3 separate regions of the Homo sapiens genome follow, and all the other regions are linked to region 2. Evidence: promoter capture Hi-C in 16 types of primary human blood cells and fetal thymus (Javierre and others, 2016). All regions are on one chromosome and are shown on one strand. The core of a region is centred on a gene start or on the middle of the fragment in contact, and the rest is flanking DNA. Distances in the headings are between cores, read along the strand shown. Region 1 overlaps DMBX1 (diencephalon/mesencephalon homeobox 1). Region 2 holds the start of TEX38 (testis expressed 38). Region 3 has its middle 13 kb from the start of LINC01398.

What was found. Contacts are between HindIII fragments. The CHiCAGO score rates a contact against its expected background, and 5 or more counts as called.
Region 1: a fragment that was not itself captured here is called in contact with the fragment with the promoter of TEX38 in region 2 in 1 of 17 cell types (neutrophils); the score reaches 5.4 in neutrophils.
Region 3: a fragment that was not itself captured here is called in contact with the fragment with the promoter of TEX38 in region 2 in 2 of 17 cell types (erythroblasts and megakaryocytes); the score reaches 6.0 in erythroblasts.

Annotation. Positions count from the first base shown.
Region 1 is chr1:46,508,711-46,511,410 of GRCh38, reverse strand. DMBX1 (diencephalon/mesencephalon homeobox 1) reads right to left here. Exons shown (of 6, transcript NM_172225.2): 4 at 757-935; 5 at 128-476. Among named protein-coding and RNA genes, the nearest start is that of DMBX1, 20 kb to the right of the region's middle. The HindIII fragment of the contact is 5,483 bases long and covers 1-2,700 here.
Region 2 is chr1:46,670,593-46,673,292 of GRCh38, reverse strand. It overlaps TEX38 (testis expressed 38), which reads right to left and starts at 1,439. Exons shown (of 2, transcript NM_001145474.4): 1 at 1,322-1,439; 2 at 1-420. The coding sequence starts at 1,358. The HindIII fragment of the contact is 3,767 bases long and covers 1-2,426 here.
Region 3 is chr1:46,434,897-46,437,596 of GRCh38, reverse strand. It overlaps the pseudogene FAAHP1. Among named protein-coding and RNA genes, the nearest start is that of LINC01398, 13 kb to the left of the region's middle. The HindIII fragment of the contact is 2,886 bases long and covers 1-2,700 here.

The sequences.
Region 1 (2,700 bases), core at 164-2,663, 160 kb after region 2:
CCTGCTGTGGTCAGTCCTTTCTGATGCGCCATGCCCCTGAGGGGCAGTTGATTACTCGCCTCTGACTTGCTTCACACGCTCAGGGCCCCCAGACCCCAGCCCTCCCATGGTACCCCTCAGACCTCACCTGCCTTGGGGCTGCCCCTCTTGCAGCCCAGCCCCTTGCTGTCAGCCCCAGGGCTCTTCTCAGCTTTGGGGTCCTCAGCCCCTGCCCTGGGGTCCTCCTCACGGTCCGGCTGATCCTCGGGGGCTGACTCACTGGCTGACTGCTCAGACAGACTCAGGTGAAGCTCAGCAGGGGGGTCGCTGCCAGGCAGACGTGGGGGCTGCTCAGTGTCCAGCTGGGTATCTGGAGTGGGGGCCTCGGCCTTGCCTTCCCCATGGGAGCCCTCAGCCTCCTTCTGCTTCTGGAGCTGTTCCTTCTGCAGGCTACGCTGCTTCTTCCGGAACTTGGCCCGGCGGTTCTTGAACCACACCTGGGGACGGGAAAGGAGCAGTCCGAGGTGGGCAAGAAAGAAGTGGGGTTGGTGTGGAGCAGGGTGCTCTGGGAGAGGATGTACGTGATAACATCCCCCCACCCCTCTAGGGAATGCACACCCTCTGTCCCTTCCCAAACTCCCCTCCTATCACTGAAGGCTTTGATGGAGAGATCAGTTGCACCTTGGCACAGGGATGACATGCTGGCTCCTGGACAAGCGGGCAGACTGATGGGCTGGTGTTTGTCTGCAAGGCCTAGTTAGGAGAGTTGGGCCCTACCTGCACCCGGGCCTCAGGCAGGTTGGTGCACATGGCCAGCCTCTCACGCATCACCACATCTGGGTAGTGAGTCTTCTGGAAGGTCTTTTCCAGGGCCTCGAGCTGCTGAGCCGTGAACGCTGTGCGGCTGCGACGTTGTTTGCGGTGCTGGGAACCATAACGGGCCTCCAAGATGATGTCTTGAAATGTACAGCCGTTGGAGGGCAAGGAGAGGGGGCCCATTTAATTATGGGAAATAGCTTTGAATCTTATCCTGCTCTGACCCACTGTGGACACCCAGGCTGCTGCCAGAGCTGGCCCTGGTCCCTTACCCTTAGAAATCAGCCATCCCCTCTCCATATGGCTGTGGGCTTTCAAGGTCTCTCCACCCCATTATGCACTATCAGGACCACAGAGGTCTAACTCAACTCCAAAAATGGCTGTCAGGCATATGATTGAGGGGGGTCTTCATTATTTGGCATTGGGATTGGGTAGGTGGGTATTACCCTAAGATGGATACTATGAGTATACTTTGAGACTCCATGATGCTAATAATCTGTAAGTCCATATCACAGGAGTTCTAAGACCCTATAGCCCTTAGATTCTGAATACTAAGACTTCTTTAGCATCAGAGTACTGGTCCCTGCCCATGAGAAGCCAGGCTGGGCTGGTACCCATCTCAAGGTCTAGTCAAGGGAGGACTGACTAGGCAGACAGAATTCACCAGCACTTGATTCTCTGTCCTCTGCATGTAAACCCCCTCATCCCAGCTGGCCTAGAGTCTCTGATGGCAGGGCCTCAGGCTCCTACTCTTCTGTTTCCTGAACAGAGAGCCTGGCTAAGGGGTAAGAGTGGAGCGGGGAGGGTGGGGGTGGCAGGGCTCACGTCTCAGGTAAGGCTTGTTGCACTCAGTCTTGACCCTTGTGGCTGCCTCCCCAAGAACAGAAGGACAAAGAGACCTGGTTCCAACCACTGTGGGTTTGTAGGGGAGACAGGACTATGGACCATTGATTCCACAGTCCTGTCCACATGTCTGGTAACATGATAACCACCCAGGATAGGTGTCTACCTAGGGCCGAGGTCTAGCCTCCATCCTGGGGTATAGCCTTCAGCCCTTTCACTTGACTAGCCCCTGAAGGATAGACAGTAACCGCTCTCCTCACTGCCTCCCATCATGTCATAAGTGGATCCTGCCCTGTTTGTGCTGAAGGGAACTTGAGTCATCTCAGCCTCTGCAAAGGGGTGCCAGAGTCCTTCCCCCGCCCTCCAGGGAATGGGAAGTCATCCACAGCACCCTAAATAGGAAGAGGAGGCCCGGCACAGTGGCTCACGCCTGTAATCCCAGCACTTTGGGCGGGTGGATTACCTGAGGTCAGGAGTTCGAGACCAGCCTGGCCAACATTATGAAACACTGTCACTACTAAAAATACAAAAAATTAGCTGAGCGTGGTGGTGGGCCCCTGTAATCCCAGCTACTCAGGAGGCTGAGGCAGGAGAACCGCTTGAACCCAGGAGGCGGAGGTTGCAGTGAGCCAAGATGGCACCATTGCACTCCAGCCTGGGCAACAAGAGCAAAACTCCATCCCCCCTCCGCAAAAAAAAAAAGAATAGGAAGAGGCAACTGGGTATCCAGGAAGCCCCAGACTTTGAGATACTTCTTCTTCAGTTTAAAAAGAGAGTCCTGAACCCCTCACAGACTGACCTTAATCCTAGGCCTGACTCAGCCCTGAGCTGAGTCATCCTGGGGCAGGGGAAGGAGTGGGGACCGCTCTGTCAGCCCCACTCTGGTTGGGGAAGGAGCAACAGCTCAGCATCCTACTGCTGGCTCCAGGGACTGCAGGGGTGGTGGGGGGTGGGGGGTGGGGGGCGTGTAGGTGTCACAGGGAAGCCAGGCTCTCTAAACCGCCGGCAGAGCCTCTGCTGGAAGGCAAGGCCTCCATACAAAGGCTCACTTGGAGTTCATGT
Region 2 (2,700 bases), core at 190-2,689:
CCTCCTGAAAGATGGGAAGTGGGAATGGGGATCTGGCCTGGGGCTGCTGTGGAGCCAGCTGCAGTGCAGGTTGCAGGGGAGCAGGGGCTTCCGCCTTGGGGTTGCTGTCTTGGTCAGCATGGCTCCTGCCTTCGGGGATGTCCAAATCCCACAGAACATCTGGATTCTGGACCTCAGTCTCAGTCTTGGTGACAGCAGGGGCAGGGCCCGTGTTGATGGCTGCATTCATGCCGTAGCGCCGTCGCTTGTTAATCCAGTACAACAATGGGCTGTAGGTGAATGTGGCAGCTCTCATCACCTCCACCCACTGCTGGGCATGCTCTTCCCGCCTCAAGTTCTTCCTCCAGTGCAGAAAGATAATGCACCCTCCAGTTATCACAGAACACAGCCCCAGGATTCCAAAGTACAATGAGACCCACACTAAGGCAGCAAGAAAGAAAAAGAGGCATGCTGGCTGATAGCTGTAGCTTGGGGCCTGAGCTGTTTCTCATTCCTCTTTCACTTAACCCATGCATCAATCGCTCCATCCACTTAACTACTCTCACCGTTCCTTCCCTCCCTTATTGACTTGCCTCATCATTCCCTTATTCAGTCAAAGCTAGATTTCCAGGGAGCTTAAGCACCACCTTTAACTCTTTACAGATCACAAAAGCTAGGTCTAGCGGGGGCATGTGCTGCCCAGGCTCAGTCAAGCCTCTGATTCCTAACCCAGGACCCATCCAATCCATCAGACTGAGAAGTTTCACTATGGGCAAGTCCATCAAGAAGCAAAAGTTCACCAGCACTTTGTGAGGCCCAGGTGGGCAGATCACTTGAGGTCAGGACTTCAAGTCCAGCCTGGCCAACATGGTGAAACCCCGTCTCTACTAAAAATTTTAAAATTAGCCAGGTGTGGTGGTGCATGCCTGCAGTCCCAGCTACTTCAGAGGCTGAGGCAGGAGAATCACTTGAATCCAGGAGGTGGAGGTTACAGTGAGCCTAGATTGAGCCACTGCACTCCAGCCGGGGCAACAGAGCAAAACTTCATCTCAAAAAAAAAAAAAAAAGTGAAAGTTCATCAGTTGACAGAGACACCAATGTCCCATCCCATTCCATTCAGCTGTGATAGTCCTGGGCTATTGATAGTATCTTCTCTGGTTGATCAGAGCATGGTCTTTGCCTTAAAATAATTCTTAGTTTTCTAGAGTAGACTATCTCCTAACTGCTTAGCTCTCCTCCAGGCAGCCAGGCACTGTCCCATCCATGCAAAGGGCCTTCCCTGAGTGTTTGTCCCCAAGCCCTAAGGCACAAGTCCAGTGACAGGGACTGGAGGAGCACTTACTCCCAGGGAAGCGCAGGTCCTCCTGTTGGGAATCCATACAGCTGAGCTTTGGTACCTGGCCGATGGCTCTGGGGAGAGGGAACTCACCCACCCATCTGCCCAGCCAGTCAGCCCATCTGCCCAGCCAATCAGAGTCTCCAGAATGCCCAGGCCCTTTGTTCTCTAAAGGAGAGGTCACTGGGTTCTGAGAATTGGGCATTCTAGGGGCAGTGCTTGTGAAGTGGTCCTGGGTTAATGGAAGGAGGGGACTTCATCCAGTGGCATTTTTTGGGTGGAATGTCACTACTACTTCCATCAGAGACTGGTTCACCTATTGAATTGTCTGTACCTACCCCTTATGGTGAACCCACAGAGCAGACCCCAGAAAAGGGCCATTGTCCCTCAGGTACTTACGGATGTTGCTGGTCTTTAGGGAACGGTTGATGGGATACCTGTCCCCAGTGAGGAATGTAACAAGGAACACACAGCATTGGGCAGCCCTGTTCTCAAAAAGTATCTAACCAAGTTGGCAGGAAGAAACCTGCTCAAGGGAACCAAGTGGTCAATACCTCCTTCTTTGGCTCCAACAATCTGTCTTTTATTTAATTACCTTCCTTCAAGTGCTGACAAGTGTTTCCCAGGCCCCAGGCCCTGTGGGGCTTCCCACCATCTGGCCTGCATCTACTTCCAGCCTTACTTCCCTCCTCGTCCTCCACACACTTTTCCCTTTTGCCTAGTCCGTACTCCTGAACAGACCCTGCTCATTCACATCTCTGGAGGTGTGCCCATGCTGCTCCTTCACCCAGGAGTGCCCCTGCCCACTTTTCCACCACTGAACACCTGCTCATCCTTCAAGACTCAGCTCAGCCCCCCTACTCTGTGACAGACTGCCCAGAATCATATCATCGCCAATTTGAAGAAACTTTGAGAGTTGTCTAGTTCATCTCCACCATCTGATCCCACCATCAGGGCCATGCTTGACTCCTGGGGGTAGATTTTTCCCCACACAGCAACTAATCTCCCTGGACTCAAGACTCACTTGAGTCAGGAACTTGCTCACCACCTCCTGAGGCAGCTTGATGCATTTATGGGCAGCTCAGTTAGAAAGCCCTTCCCTAATTAAGCTTAAGTCAGCCTTCCCAGTATGTTGCACCACTGCTTGTAGCTCAGCTTCTTAGCACCATTTTAATGACTCCCCTCTTTATAGTCCTCCAATGTGTGACTTAGGGAACTATTTAGCACAGAATTCTCTCCAGGGTCCACTTACCCTTGTTCTCCTCGTATATCACTGGCCCCTACTTTCCAGTCTCCTTTGCTGGTTTCTCCCTTTTCCCCTGATCTCTAAATGTAGGCATGTCTAGGGCTCAGTTCTTAGTGCTCTATCTACATTCATTCCATCA
Region 3 (2,700 bases), core at 90-2,589, 240 kb after region 2:
CAGATGTAGCCACCTTTGTCTCCAAGGATGGCCCCGCCCAGCATCCTCGCACTGGCCCAGACTCTCTCTCACCCAGGACCAGGTGAGACTACCTGGTGTCAAGCATCCTGGAGCAGCCAGGAGGTGAGCTGCACAGCCCTGGCCATGCTAGGGGATGGCTGGATGTAACCATCTGATTCATAGTAGCCAATTCGAAGGGGCCGGTTACTGGTGTAAACCTAGGGGCACAAGGGGCTGGATGGAGCTCGGAGGAGAGATTGTGCTGGGGACAAGGTGGCCCCACTCTATCCAGGAGCCAGACTTTAAGGGCAGGGCCTTGGTCTACAGCTGTCCTCACAAAGGGGGGAATCCATGTGGACACCCCAAGACCCCCTGGGAGCCTCCCTATATACTCTCCAGGCTCTAGGTGCTCTGCGGAAACCCCTGGAGGAAAGAGAAATGGATGAGATGGGTGGTTGGGCAGATGGGGTGGATAGTAGATAGATGGTAGACAGACTCCTGGGTGGGTGGGTGGATGTATGTATGAGATGGTGGGTAGTTGGGTGGGCAGAGGGTTGAATGCATATGTGGGTGAGTGGGTGAATGGATGGTTGGAGTTGAGTGGGTGGGCAGGTGAGTAAGTCATGCATAGACTCAAATATCTTTAAGCTAAAGAAATGTTAGGAGAATATGAGGCTGGAGATCTATAGGGACAAATACCCAGACCAGGGTCTGAGATGGAGGGCCCCTAGTCCTGGGAAGTGGGGTGCTGCCAGAAAGGCAGCCGCCCCTCACCCGTCACACAACACATGTTTGTAGGGGCAAATCATGGATGATATACAATGATCTCAGGTTGATAATGCTAGGAGGGGTGTAGGGAATCCGAGGAACAGACATTGCCGGGACGTAGACAGAAACTGCCCTATGGAGAGGGTTCTGCAGTTAGATAGGGCTGGGTTCAAAGCCAGCTCTGCCAGTTACTAACTACATGATCTTAGGCAAGTCATTTCACTTCCCCTCAGTCTCCCCAGCTGTAAATGGGAGGAGCACTGCTCACTCTATAGAGTGTTAGGATGAGACACGCAGAGCCTGGCACACAACTGGTACAAGCAAATGTTGTTGAATGAATTAACGAATAAATGAAGGCTGCTGTAGACAGAAGGGTGTGGAGTAATCTCCCAGCCTAACCTCTTTATTGTATTGATGGGGAGGCTAAGGCTGAAAGAAGAGATGTGACTTGGCCAGGGTTACCTAGAGGGTTAAAAACCCAGCTTAACTGGATGCCACACCCTCTCAACCACACTTGCTGAGTATTCTAACTGCATGGGTTGGGTATATGGCACTGGAGGCCCTCTTTGGGGGCACTTACAAGCTATGGCTCCAGATAGCCAAGAAGCCAAAGCAGCTGGTGTCCAGCAGGGGAAGGAAACAAACTGGACTGAGCATGTGGGCTTCTCACTCACTGCAGCCTGGGGTGGGAAAGGGGGTCTTCACCTGGGAAGGTAAGATGGCAGACAGGTCAGGGAGGAATGATGGTGGGGGGCAAGGAAACCCCCAGGTCTGCTCTCCCACCTGGCTTACCTCCTCCCTAAAGGGCATCTGGAGCACAGTGGGGTCCAGTCGGTACATGTCTTCACTCAGCAGGGCTTGCAGGCACAGCGCCAGGCTCTCCACGTCCTGGGCCATGGGGCCAGCCACCGTGGTCACTGCACAAAGAGGAGGGGAGAGAGGCAGGCACCTCTCGTTTTGTTTGCTTGTTGTGTTTTGTTTTTTGTTTGTTGGTTTTTGAGACGAAGTTTTTCTCTGTCACCCAGGCTGGAGTGCAGTGGCACCATCTCTGCTTACTACAACCTCCACCTCCCGGGTTCAAGTGATTCTCCTGCCTCAGCCTCCCCAGTAGCTGGAATTACAGGTGCCCGCCACCACACCTGGCTAATTTTTGTATTTCTAGTAGAGACGGGGTTTCACCATGTTGGCCAGGCTGGTCTCGAATTCCTGACCTCAAGTGATCGCCCACCTCAGCCTCCCAAAGTGCTGGGATTACAGGCATGAGCCACTGCGCCCAGCAAGCACCTCTCATTTGTTGTGCCCTGGGGATCCCAACTGCCTGGCCTCAGAGGGTGGGTTCCAGGGTCATGGTCAGGACGAAGGAAGAGATTAAAGCTAGATAGCAGGACAAAAGCCCTTCTCAGAGGGCCAAGAGTCACTGGACAAGGGGAGGCCAGGTGGGAACCATGCAGTCTGCCCTCTCAGTCATCATCTGTGGGGCTGATCTGTCTGGAGATATGAGCTGAGCAAAATGTCCTTGGGAGAAAGACTGGCAGTTTCATCTTTAAATGGGGTGGCCACAGGCACAGACCAGGACTTACCCGATTTTTTTCCCCTTGATGGCAGAGGCAATTCCAGTGTAGCTGCAAAACATTCCGACCCAGAGCCCAGCTCAGCATGTGAAGGGAGGGGCCTGGGTGCTAGGAGGCTTGAGCACCCAGGCGATGTGCTCCCCCAGGGCGCAGCCCACAAAAATAGGAGCTGCTTCAACATTCCCTGACCCTCTGCTGCCCACAGCATAGTCTGATCTCTTTGACTGCTTTTCAAGACTCTAACTCTCCATGGCTTCCCCTTCTAGCCCTTCCACACGTGCATATTGCTGCAGGCAAAGTCAGCCGCTTACAAACAATCTTACAGCCTTCTAGACGCCACATCATCTTGGCATGTCTGGCC